2 separate regions of the Homo sapiens genome follow, and region 1 is linked to region 2. Evidence: promoter capture Hi-C in 16 types of primary human blood cells and fetal thymus (Javierre and others, 2016). All regions are on one chromosome and are shown on one strand. The core of a region is centred on a gene start or on the middle of the fragment in contact, and the rest is flanking DNA. Distances in the headings are between cores, read along the strand shown.

The links. Contacts are between HindIII fragments. The CHiCAGO score rates a contact against its expected background, and 5 or more counts as called.
Region 1: a contact is called between a fragment that was not itself captured here and the fragment with the promoter of ADAM10 in region 2, in 1 of 17 cell types (fetal thymus). The highest score is 5.9, in fetal thymus.

The regions. Positions count from the first base shown.
Region 1 is chr15:56,243,706-56,250,212 of GRCh38, forward strand. RFX7 (regulatory factor X7) reads right to left here and starts at 174. Exons shown (of 10, transcript NM_022841.7): 1 at 1-174. It overlaps LOC124903569 (laforin-like), which reads right to left and starts at 1,113. Exons shown (of 3, transcript XM_047433428.1): 1 at 1,029-1,113; 2 at 278-474; 3 at 1-177. The coding sequence starts at 1,113. It also overlaps a transcript of TEX9 not described here. RefSeq lists silencers at 70-359, 850-899 and enhancers at 146-791, 792-1,437, 1,150-1,199, 1,438-2,083. The HindIII fragment of the contact is 2,177 bases long and covers 2,022-4,198 here.
Region 2 is chr15:58,745,367-58,752,424 of GRCh38, forward strand. ADAM10 (ADAM metallopeptidase domain 10) reads right to left here and starts at 4,341. Exons shown (of 16, transcript NM_001110.4): 1 at 4,114-4,341. The coding sequence starts at 4,168. RefSeq lists enhancers at 3,474-4,109, 3,561-3,690, 4,781-4,960 and silencers at 3,801-4,090, 4,421-4,710. The HindIII fragment of the contact is 2,079 bases long and covers 3,066-5,144 here.

The sequences.
Region 1 (6,507 bases), core at 1,860-4,359, 2.5 Mb before region 2:
TCCTTCCTTGTCCCCGGGGCTTTCTACTGCCGGGTCCCCGTGCTGCTGCAGCCCCAGGCACCGCTCCACGCCACTCCCCACGCCGCCGCCGCCGCCGCCGCTCGCTCCCGGCCCCGCCGCCGCCGCGGCCGCCGCTGCCCTGCCAGCCCCGGAGGCAGCCCAGTGCGCGCAGCCGCACTGCGGCCCGGCGCAGACCGCACAACACCTACCGCTCCGCCGGGGGGCGTGGACCAGGGTGTGCGGGCCGCGGGCGCGACGGGCCGGGATGGGGGCGCACGGCGCGGAGGGCGGCGCGGGCCAGCGGGCCAGGGAAGCGCGCCGCTGGGGGCCGGGAGGAGTCCGGCCCGGCTGGTGGAGAGCAGGAAAACGTGGGGGAGGTGCTGGCGAGAGAAAGAGAACTTGCGTGAGGAGGAGGAGGAGAAACCAAATTTAATAATATTTGGCGTGGAAATGGGATTTGGGCGGGGGAGGCATCTTCAAAGCAAGTAAAGAGAAATCAACATTATCCCCCTTCCCCTGCACATGCATGTGAGGATTACTTCCTCCCTGAGTAAATGAAGAGAACTGAAGCAGGTAAGACGATAAACTGACTTTTCAGAAGCCCCCAAAGAAGAACACCCGTTGGAATTAACCACCCTTTAGGTAATTCGGTCTTGAACGGAAATCGCGAGTCAGGAGCTGGGTTGAGTGCTCCTCGGTCGGGCATTCAAAGCCCTCCAAATCTGGCCCCACTTTAACTATCCAATCATAGCGGCCTCCATCCCCCTGCAAGAACTCCCGGCTCCAATCAGGGAAGTCTCCATGCCATCCTCAACGCGCAGCAGATTCATTCTTCCTTCGTGCCTTTGCTCATGCTGTTCCCCTCCACCTCCCCACCCCACCCCACCCCCTTTCCAGGAATGCCCTCCCTCCTTTATACCGCTCCCAATTCCACCCAGGCTCTAAAGCATAGCTCAAGTCGCGGCTTGTCAGGGTCCCTGCAGCCAAGGCCACTGCCTGCCTCTGAAAGAAACGCATGTAGTACTCACAACATGGAGGCTCAGGCGTCAGCCACGAGCTCCTTCCTTTGGAGCCCGTTGAACACCCGCCCTCCCCCCGCAGACTCCGCACCATTCCCCCCCTTCCCATTCATACCTAAATGATAGCTTTGCCACAAATAAGTCAGTCTCCTTTAAGAGCAGAAGAATTGGCTTTTCTAGGTGGGGCTGATCAGGGAGGCTGCGTGGATGTAGAATACAACAGCCAAGGCCTCTGGCACCAAATGGAACAGCTGTTCAGCTCACACTGACCTTTCTTTGGGCCCGTGGGTGTTATGAGCCCTTCAGCTTTAACTTTTCTGATAGAGTGTCTATCAGGTTTCTACCTGTTAGATCCTCTGGCCACTTTCCTGCTGTGTGTGGACTTTGGGCTGTGGGGCTCTGCCACCTTTTAGACTCCTAGTGGATGGTGAATCTGATTGGCTTGGGTTGCCTGGCCTTTGAGTTCTCAGTTCCCTGCCTTGGCCTGAAACCCTCTTGCTTTTGTCCACTGTGCCCTCTCTCCTGGCCCACAGACTTAAGGCCCAGACTCACACTGAATGCTTGCACGTGGTGAGGGTTGAGGGTGGGGGTGCAGGGAGGAAGAACACCTGTGTGCAAAATAAGCCGCCCCCCCGCCCCCGGGGCCTCTTGGATTACGCTGTGCTCCAACTACCCATTGCACGAGTTGCATCACACAAATGAGCCCCCTTTTCCATACTCTAAGGTCTCTATTAGCTTAGCCACTTTAGGAAACTATAGGTGGTTTACGACATTCATTTTGCATACATATCTTCATGTGGGTGTGTAAAGACAGTATTTTTGTGGACCTAATTGATAGACATGGTGTGCACTAGACAGAAGCTTTGAAGGATAAAAATAGCTAATGTTTGTTGAACACTTTGTGTGCCAGACTAGCACTTTCCATACATTATCATAGTTATTCCTCCCCAAGAGTGTATAATGTAGGTATTATTAGTCTCCCTCTGTTACAGATGAAATGGAAGCTTAGGTTAATTAACATTCTTAAAATTACCCAATTAGTAAATGCAGGAGCCAAAATTTGAGTCCTGGAAGTTTAATTCCAGAGCCTGCAAGCTATGCTGAAACTGGAATTACGCTGAAAAATCTTGAATGTAGGTATATATATACGTGTGTGTGTGTATGCCCTATATCACGTTGAGGAAAGTTGCCAAGTTCCCCAAGGTTCTAATTTTTTGCCTTGCCAAGAGAGAATGATGGCTCCAAGTTGCAACACCCTGGGAGGGGGAGATCCTTAGGAAGTGGGAGAGTCATCGAGGGGGTAACGTATCTAAGGTCTGCCAAAGGCCTTAAGAAAAGGAAGCCGAGAACCAAGACGTTTTATAAAAAGTTCGCTACCGGGTGTCACACAGGCTGGCTTCCCAAGTGCAACTTCTGAGAGTTTTTAATGGGTTCCATAAAAGAGCCAGGTCACCCCAGCAGCCACTAGAGGGCTCACGAAGCTGCAGCCGCGGGCTGCCCTCTAGCGGCGGTGCTGACCGGAGTGTGGTGGTAAACCTTTTCCGGCCTTCCAGGACCTACAGGGAGTTGAAGGAGACCAGCAATGGGAGGGGTGGCAGAGAGTATCAGACTGAGGAGACCTTATTGCCAGAGTGAGATACCCTTTCAGGGAGGAAAGGGGCAGCCCTCACTACTCACTTAACATCTGGGAGTACAGTGGGTGTTTTGTTCCAGTCTTCAGAGAAGACTGTGAATAAAATCATGACATTAAGAAATCTGATGAAGTTACCCAAAATTTTGAGTGTGGACTCAAGCCAAACCCAGGGACCCTGAATAAAGGCAGGAGTGTAGCCATGTGCTTCTCATATTATGTGGGTTCCTTTGATTGTGCAACCCTGTACTGAGGACCCTCAAGGACCCAGAATCAATGTGGCTCATTTTCTCTGAGCATCATTTTGACTCTCTGGTAAATAAGGTAAGACATTGTAGTAAGCATGACTTTTTAAGATAACACACAAGTATTACCCAACCCTGAGGAGCCTAAGTTTATTCTCTACTGGGAAAGTGTACACCAGAGGAAAATTTTGAGGAACACTGATGTAGTGGGTTAGAAAAACCTGGCCTTGGAGTCAGAAGACCTGGGAATTCAAACCCTCTGTTTCGATCTCTATAAAAATGAAAATAATGATGTACATCAGAGGGTTGCTATAAGGAAAACATGAAAAGTTATAGGTAAACCAGGGAAGTGTTGTCCACATTTAGAGAGTATCTACAAGATGGATTGTCAGCACCTCAAAGGAAATGACTATTTTATTTATCCTAGTAGTCCCAGGACATAATTCCTGACTCCTGACTATTTAATAAATATTTGTGGAATTTAGTAGTTAACTAACCCTCATTTTCCTAGCCCAATCCATTATATTGTCTTGCTCTCTTGTGTCTGTAAACCTTGTCTCCTTTATGAAACTGTAAACATTTTATACTGTCCAGACTGTAGTATATACATTTATCATGCCTGATATATAGCAGTATTGGGCACGGAAAATATGAATAAATAAGACCTGGCCCCAACTTGAAGTAGTTTACATTTTTGTGAAGTAGAGCAACATATTAACATATATAAGATGATGAGTTATAAACATATCCACTAGTGTTGTGGAGTCATAATGGAGGGAGGGATTGGTCTTGCTCAGGGTAGAAGAACTGGAGAAGGCATCATGGCTGGCATTTTAATTGGGTCTTGTTGGATGAATAGGAGTTGAGTAGGCAGAGCAACAGAGGGAAGATGATTTCAGATAAAGGGAGTAACATGAGCACTGGTGTGAAGCCATGAAAGGGTACTGTTTGCTGAAGGAATAATGCATAGCACGGTGTTGACTCTGTGATCAGATCCTAAAGTAGTATAGGCGAGGGAAAAGAAGGAGAGAGAGACAAAAACCCACTTTACAAAATGTTACTTTGCATTATAGTTAGGATCGTTCTATCAAAGGAAGGCCTGAAAGTCGGTTTCATTATTGGTACATACTGATTAAGTGCTGAAAGTATACATTTCACTTCCACAAAGTATGGTGGTTTACCAGATATGGAAAAGGTAAAGTTCTACCCTGTTCTCCTTCTTTCCCAACTTGAATATAAAAATAAAATACTCCTCTCATCCTCTTTTCCCCTGATCATTACTTCCTCTGTCTTTTTCCATTGCAAGCTTTCTCCTCTAGAAGCTGAAAGTAGAGTTTAATGACCTACATGTTATTTAAGAGAACAAGGAAAGAAGGCTTTTCACCTCTCCCAATTCTTCCTTGATAGCAGAAAGTGATGGATAATTTCTTTCAGCTAAGCTGTTGTCTTTCAAAGTGCAAGTAGTCCTAGGAGGGCTTATATATATATAAGTTTCAATGCTGTAATGTGATTGAGCTTTCTTTCAGTCTTTAATAGCATTAGAGAGAAGAGGATGTGGGAGGGAGTGAAGAGGAGAAAAATAAAAGCAGCAGCAAGATTACAGAAGAGGGAAGTTGGGGGGTTCAGAACTAAGTTAATATTGGCAAATTTTGATACATGTTCTCAATACCAAGAGTGCTAATGTAAGTATGCTGTGAAAATGTGAATTCTTCTGTTAGAGCACAAATATGTCATTATGTCATTAAAACAATGTATAGCCCAGTGTTAAGGCTAAGTAGCCTAACTATTCAAATACTGTCAAGGCAGCAGACTGTTAACACTGTCACTACCTGGCTATGTGACCCTATCTGTACAAGTCATTCTTTCAAGTACCTTTGCTTATCTCTAAGGATTAGTGGGATAAAGTTCACATAATATACTCAGCTCTTCAAGTGAGTAGTATGATGAAACAAATGCTAGATCCCGCTTTGATTTCACTTAGAAATTTTCCACTGTTGGTACCATATACATGTTTATGTTGTAACTTTCAATTCTTTTACATTAAAGAAGGTTCAAGTTAATATCATCTACATACATTTTAAAGGAAGTGTTTACTTTAACTTGGGCCAAAAAGTCCCAAGTAGAAATTTGATATCTTAGAAATTCAGGAAAGGAGTGGCTGTGAACAGAAGCAGATAAAGAAAAACACTAAATTGTGACACTAAAAGTGTTTTAGTTATTTACTTAACACTAAAAGTGACAATGAAAAGACACCAGAGCCAATCCCACAGTGAGGAAGTCAGTGCCAGTGCAGTCTGAACAGGTGGGGCCTAACCAATAATTCACAAGGTCGATCATTCCTCCATTCCTTTCAAGGCACATTCGAGAACCTGCTATGTACAAGTTACTATATTGGGACCTTAGAAAGATTAAAAAATAAGTAGTAAAATATTGTTCTCATTTTCAAGAAGCTCATAATCTAATTGGAACACTACACATGTCAGCCCATACATATTTTTAAAAGTGAAATAAAAACACAAAAAACAAACAAAAGGTGTGTGACAGGATAATTTATTGAGCTATTTATTTGGGTTTTATGCTCCTTATATTTTCCCTCCCTTCCATTCCAAGCAGGCTTCAAGGGAACTTTGTGTTACTAGGCAGAAAGTTGTCTGACAAGAGCTCTCTCTTAGGCAACTCCAGGGGGCACCATTCACATTTTAAATGAAGCCTCCTGGAACAGGACTCCTTAGAATGCAGTGTCAATGTTATTTCTGGAATTGGACCCAGCAATCTGTCTTTCAAGTTTGTTGCTCCTTGAGGAGATGTTGCTAGGGGGTTAAAAAGGTAAGCACATCTGGGGAGAGAGAGAGAGGGAGGGAGGGAGGGAAGAAAGGAGGGAGGGAGGGAAGGAAGGAAGGGGCGCTGAGACAGGTGGATCACAAGGTCAGGAATTCAAGACCAGCCTGGCGAAGATGGTGAAACCCCGTTTCTACTAAAAATACAAAAATTAGCCGGGCATGATGGCAGGTGCCTGTAATCCCAGCTACTTGGGAGGCTGAGGCTAAGGCAGAGAATTGCTTGAATCAGGGAGGTGGAGGTTGCAGTGAGTCGAGATTGTGCCACTGCACTCCAGCCTGGGCGACACAGTGAGGATCTGTCTCAAAAAAAAAAAAAAAAAAAAAAAAAAGAGGAAAGAAGAAGCATCTATGGGCAGGTGGAATTACAGAAAAAAAAATTCCCATGAGCTGTAGAAAATCAAAGATTGGGGTTCCAGTAGTAAGAATAAGAGTACCCCAGGGAGATACTCTAACCTCATATGGATGCACAATGCCATTAGGGAGGCTGGATTCCCTTGCCTCTCTTGGCCCATAAGTGGAGGAATTGCCAGTGAGGATGTCAAAGTCCATCTTCCATTTTCTAGGCTCAACATAAGTCTTTCAAACCCTACTGCAGTACTAGGAAGAGAGGAAAGCCCAGTAAGAACTGAGATTGGATTTCCTTCTACTCCAGCAGAATTAAGGCTGAGATCACTTAAGTCTGTGGTAAATTTAATTTGATTTAAAGAATAGTGACATGTCTTGCACACCCAAATTTGTACTTGCAAATTTATACTTCCTAGTGGTGGATGCTA
Region 2 (7,058 bases), core at 3,091-5,590:
ATATGACCCTCAACTAATTTTTTCTGTGGTTCTCATCCCAGTAGAAAAAGAAATGGTTTCTTACTTACCCATTTAGATAAAGAAATGTGGAGAGACTGTAACGATCATTCTATATTAAAGACCTTCAAGCTGCTACTATTATGAAAACGGGTTTTTTTAAAAAACATCTAATAACCTAATGCTGAATAAAAAGTATTGTGTATACCATGTTCTTTTTAAACAAATCTTTAAGACTACAGAGAAAACATTGCAAAAAAATATTAAAAGTTGGATAAGGGGTCACAGTCAAACATTTTTTAAAAGTTGGAGCCATCTATACAAGATAAAGCTAAGGCAGAGATGGGAACAACATACCCACAGTACCCAAGCAGGTAACAAAAATGAGTGAAAAAGGCCAGGTGTATCATTAGGAATGATGGGGACTGCAGTAACCGGTAAGCACATACCCAGTTTAAAGAGGGTGGCTACTGCCCTACTGCTCAGCTCTGCACAATAGGAATACAGCCCACTAGTATCTGGATTTCCAAGTCTTCCCCGAAAATCCAGAAATCCATGAATTTCACTGAGAAATATCCCAATTTTTCAATGTTAATCATTAGCTCAAACTTAAAGACACTGTGAATAAAACATATCTCTAAGGTAGTTTAGTCCAGAGGCCACCTTTGAGCTAATGTATGAAAGCCGCTTTCAAAAAAGGCATGAAGGGGCAATGGATAAAAAGCTTATTAGGGTTTAAGGTCAAACCAGCTTGAGTTCGAATGTCCAATTCACCACTAAGTGGTGGATGATGCTAGAAAAATTATATTTCCAAGTCTGTTTCTTCAACTGCCTATCACCCCTCTCTCATAACTGTTGAAAAGTGAAACTCCTAACACAGTATTAGACACACAAAAGGCATCATGGAAATGTTCCATTTGCCCCAAGCCCTACAACCCTTAAGGTCCTTAGAAAAATTTTAAAGAGATCAGATAATACACATCCTTGAAGATCTTAAACAAGTTACTAAAAGCACATCAGAGAAGTGCCTGCCATGCCTGCTGGGAGAGGCTGTACACATACACACAGAAAATACCATTAATGTAGGCAATGGTACCTTCCTACAACTACAACATAGGATGGGACTGTGCCGGAAATGGGCACCATCAGGAAAGTTTACATTTTATGATTCTAAACACTTTAATTCTTCCTTCTGGCTTCCCATCCTAGTAATATGTAATATGTAAATTTTTCTTGTTAAGAAAAATGTCTTAAGACAAGGAATTGGCCAGTCAGGGTGGCTCATGCCTGCAATCCCAGCACTTTGGGAAGCCAAGGTAGGTGGGTCGCTAGGGACGAGGAGTTTGAGACCAGCCTGGGCAACGTATTAAGACCCCATCACTACTTTTTAAAATAAATAAACAAAATAAAACATTTTTTAAAAAAGATGATGGAGTTAACTGGACTCAAACTGAAGTTTTAAAAAGATGAAGAGTCAGAGATCCTTAAGGATAAAGACAAAATTAGTCTGTCTCTTTCATTAAATTCTTATTTGCTGGTAGATTCCGACTCAGAGTCAGAGAAAGTTTAACTGCTTAAGCTCTACTACCTTTAAAGCTCTGGTCAAGTTTCCAGAAAACTTATTTCTATTGAGCAGTAATGTACAAAGCTAAGCACTTACATCAGATTTTTAAATGTAAGAGACATATCATACTCTGAAGTTCATTTCGGGCATGATTTCATCAAACCAAAACATTATGGAATTTACTGCTACAGCTGAAATGCCTTTTGTGCTCTCAAACACACCAGTTAAATTTTAAAAATAAAATAAAAAAACATGGTTTGCTCCTACAACTACAACATAGGATGGGGCTGTGCTGGAAATGGACACCATTAGGAAAGTTTGTTTTATGATTCTAAACACTTTAATTATTCCTTCCAGCTTCCCATCCTAGTAATATACAGAGCAAGAAAAATTTCACACACAACAGTGACTGACAAATTGGGGAGGTGGAAGCAACAAAAAGGATTTATTAACTACCTGAAAATGATTTACATTTTAAGTTAAATTTCCACCACAACTTCTAATCTACACAAATTTCTCCTTTCTCTCATATGCTAAAACAAATACATTCAATCTCAATGTGCTGAAGTCTACAAATCATCATACAAAGATCTTACAAGTGACCAAAAATAGCTCAGATTAGTAGATAAAAATACCCCATAGTTACAATAAAATTACAAGTATCTCCAAGTACCCAAAAGCTAGAATCTTGATACTAATTTTAAAATAAAACTAATAAAACTTGTCTTATGTTTTTTGAAAAAGTTCTGCTTAACAAAAACACCAAAAATTAGCCTTTTAACCAATGCTTAATGCAATAAAGGACTCTGGAAATATGAATTTAGAAAATTTTTGTATAAGAGTTTTAACCCACAAACATGTTATTCAATTGTTTTTTCTTCAAATATAAGACTACATCAGTTTCTTACTGTTTTCATTATTTTTAAAAGAACATTTAGTATACTACTACTCAGTAAAGTGCCTCATGTGTTTGTCTTACTTTTTATTACCTTATAGAGAACAGTGTCTTAACTCCTGAATTTAATCACAAAAAGTGAAAAAAGATAGGAAAACGATTTGTTGAAAGCCACGTTTAGAACAGAAATAACAAATGTCAGATGAAAAAGGCTCCTCTAACAGAGAGTCTCCCGCACATAATCCTTTTTAAAACTAAACATCTATTATCAGCTCTTAATCTATAATGTGTGTCTTGCTTGATGAATTGGATTGAAAAAAATTAAATAAAACGTGTAACAAAAAAATGAACACTACAAACTATAACAGAAGTCTGCCTACGCAGTACCACCCTCGGACTCGGTAGAATACAGGACAGAAATACACTTGGTCCTGCAGTCATAAGTCAAAGTGGCAAAGAAAAAAACAGAAACAATACATTACATGAAATAGATATTTTCTAAATTATCAAAGGCTACAGACACTCATCCAAAGCATTCCTCAAATTTTTTCAATCGTTGCTTTTAGGCACACCTTGAGGTTTTTAAGTTTACTCTGGGGCAAGTCAAAAAGCTTACCTAAAATAAAGCACTTTAAGCAAGAATAAAATGATGCAGCTGGTCCTAGAACACACCGGAAATAAAAATCGTTGTCTTCAAAACCCGAAACAAGAAATGACATGCTTTTAGCAAATTTGACTTTCATGTGCAGGGGGGAGGGGGCACTGTTTTGACAATCCACTAACTACACTGTACATCTACTCCACCTGAAAGTTTAACGAAACTCTTCAAGTTGGGTCACCCAGGGACCGAACTTCTACTCTAAGAGACCCAATCCAGCCTACAAATCAAAGAACATCCCCAAATGGTTTACCCTTCTCCCGACCAAACCCTTTCCCCTGGGCGACAGAATGTTTTCAAGAACACCAACACACCCTCCTGTGATCTCTCTCCAAACACAGGACACAGGAAGAACCGAGGCCACTAGTCTCAGATAAGCGGGTGATGACTGCTGCCACTCCACGGGCGGCCCCTCTGCAGAATGGGGTCGGTCAGGACCGGCGCGCCGGGTAAAGAACAATACACGAGCCCAGCTGCAAACAACACAACTTCCCACGAGTCTGCGCGGCGGGTCTCGGCGGCGGAGAGGACTTCGGAATCCGCCACCGGGCAGGGGCTGGGGGAGGAATGGTGAGCAGGATGAGCGCTGAACGAGGACGGCGAGACCGCCAGCCTCGCTGCGGCTGCCTGCACCGGCGCCCGCCGAGCAGACTGGAGGGATGCAGCCACCAGCCTGGGTTCCACCGCTCTCACCAGGCGACGCGGATGCCCCGACTTCGCTTCTCTGGGAGGCGACCCCCGCCTCCCGGGGCCGCCAGGGCGGTGGGGGGCGGGGAAGGCCTCGCCGGAGGCTTGGGAGCCTCCTCGGCCCGCCACCGAAGGGAAAGCGGTCGGGGCGCGGGGGACAATAGGGAGCGGGGAGCGCGGCCCGCCAGAGTGGCGCCGCTGGCCGGCTGGGCTGACTGACGCGCACGCCGCGAGGCGCGACTGGGCTCCGCTCGGCCCGGCCGCCGCTCCGCCGTGGTCGCGGCGCCCCCGGCGCTCGCAGTCGTGCCTCACCTCCCATCCCCGCCGCCCAGGAGAGGAGCAGAATTAACACTCTCAGCAACACCATCTTCCGCTGCCGCTGCCGCCGCCGCCGCCTCCTCACGGGTTAACAGCAGCACATCGATCCGGAGGGAGAAGCTGAAGGGGCTTGGTCCGGAGCCTCCACGGGAAGCCGGGACCTCCCCTGGCAGGAGAAACGGCGAAGCACCTCCCTCTCGCTCCACTTCAGGGGCCGGCAACGCTCCTAGCTCCTCCAAAACAGGGACCTCCCTCCCCCTCGTTCGTTTCCTTCCTCCTTTCCCCGCTTTCCTTCCCTTGCTCGTTCCCTCTTCTCTCCCCCCCTCCTTCGAAACTCAGACCTCCGCCTCCTTCCTCACCACGTGACGCGCGGGCACCCAACTGGCACGCGGAGCCGCGCCCCTACCTCCCGCCCCTACCCGTCCCCCAGGCGCTTCAGGGGCGCGCGCATGCGCGCGGGGGACGGTTCCCGTGCTGCTAGGCCTGCCGCCGCTTCCTGTCCGCCGGCGGAGAGCTGGGATTGGGCTTGGGAGGCGGGGTTTGTCCTGGTCCCGCCCCGGGGCGGGAGCGCTCCTACGCGGAGATAGTGCTCCGCTACGTGTTAGAGCTGCTGAGGACCTTCCCTTGGGCTAAAATGGTCCGTGGAAGATGTAAGCAGGGCTGCTTTCGACTTCTTAACGTCACAAGTAACAGAGGTTTTTTTTCTTCTTTTTCTGCCTCTCTTGGTGCACCACAGCTACCAAGTAAACAAAAAGTCCCAACAAGCAGTAATTATAGCGGCAGCTGCCCCAGTGATGCGAACATAAATGCAAAGACCTTCAAGCAGCAGGAAAAAAAGACACCATGTCCGAGATGTAATTTTCCGAGCTCTTTACAAATTTATGTCACAGACTAAGGCTTTAGCCTTTGCAAAAGCATGCAACCTGAACCAGACTGTCTTGAATCTCCAGTCCAGAAAATGTCCTCTTTTCTCTCTGTCACATCTTTGAAGCGAATCCACGCACATCTTCTCCCCAACTTCTTAAAGCTTGTGTTTGTTTTCTCGTAACTCATTTTGATTCTTTAAACTTGGATGTCATGAACTAGAACTTTTTATGGCCATTTAATTAGATATTCTTCATCTATTTGGTATCGTGCTTGAGTAGGCCGAATTAGGGAGAGTGTGTGTGTGCGTGTGTGTGTGTGTGTATGTGTAAATTGTTTTGTTTTGCTTTCTAAAGACAAGGTCTCCGCTGTCTCGCCAGGCTGAAGTGCAGTGGTGTGATCATAGCTCACTGTAACCTCCAACTCAAGCCGAATTAGGGAGAGTGTGTGTGTGTGTGTGTGTGTGTAAATTGTTTTGTTTTGCTTTCTAAAGACAAGGTATCCGCTGTCTCGCCAGGCTGAAGTGCAGTGGTGTGATCATAGCTCACTGTAACCTCCAACTCAAGCGATCCTCCCGCCTCGGCCTCCCACAAGTGCTGGGATTACAGGCGTGAGCCACTGCGCTCGGCCTTAATGTTATTGATACTGTAATAAACTGGAATTCCTATACTGTTACCTGTATATTTTATACCATTTATTACCATTAACATAAGTGAAGAGAATTTTTTTTTTTTTGAGACGGAGTTTCGCTCTCGTTGCCCAGGCTGGGGTGCAATGGTGTGATCTCGACTCACCGCAACCTCTGCCTCCCAGGTTCAAGCGATTCTCCTGCCTCAGCCTCCCAAGTTGCTGAGATTACAGGCATGCACCACCACGCCCAGCAAATTTTTTGTATTTTTAATAGAGACGGGGTCTCACCATGTTGGTTAGGCTGGTCTCGAACTCCCAACCTCAGGTGATCCGCCCGCCAGCCTCCCAAAGTGCTGGGATTACAGGTGGGAGCCACCGAGCCTGGCCATAAGAGTCTTCTTTAATTCTCAGTTTGAGAAATGAATGATTCTAGTTTTGCTGCAACATTAATAGGCTCAAAAACGGACGTTTCAAAACCATCATAATTGTATCCATTTATAATGAGATACATGGAATCATCAAAGGATGGCAGAATCTCACGAATGGTTTTTTTTTCCTTCATTAAAATATTCAGTCTTAGGAAATAGTTACCTGCAGACATTACATCTCATATCACCTGTGCTTTTTACTAATCTCTTGTGGTAGTGCTGTCAACAAATGATATTTTTATTTTCCAGCTCTTAAACCACCTTATAGCATGTTTTCTGTTGCACAGTATTTTTATAATGAATTCCAGTGATTAGAGGCAAATGGCACTTTCCCTTAAAATTCAACTGGAAAAAACTCCAAAGCCATATTTTGCATTACTAAGATGATTACTGAAAATTACATTTATAAAGACTGTATTTTTTTTTTTAATTTTTAAAATGTATTTATTTTGGCCAGCCACGGGGCTCACAGCTGTAATCCCAGCACTTTGGGAGGCCAAGGTCCGCAGATCACTTGAGGTCAGGAGTTTGAGACCAGCCTGGCCGACATGGTGAAACTCCGTCTCTGCTAAAAATACAAAAATTAGCCAGGCGTGATGGCGGGCGCCTGTAGTCCCAGCTACTCGGGAGGCTGAGGCAGGAGAATGGCGTGAACCCGGGACGCAGAGCTTGCAGTGAGCCGAGGTCGCGCCACTGCACTCCAGCCTGAGCGACAGAGCTAGGAAAAAAAAAAAAGCCGGGCGTGGTGGCCTGTGCCTGTAATCCCAGCTATTCTGGAGGCTGAAGCAAGTAATCCCAGCTACTCAGGAGGCTAAGGCAGGAGAATCACTTGAACCTAGGAGGCGGAGGTTGCAGTGAGTCGAGATGGCGCCACTGCACTCCAGCCTGGGAGACAGGGCAAGACTCTGTCTCAAAAAAATTAATTAATTAATTAATTAAAAATAAAAATCAAATAGCCAGTGCAGTGGTATGCACTTGTAGTCCCAGGTACTCGGGAGGCCGAGATGGGAGGACTGT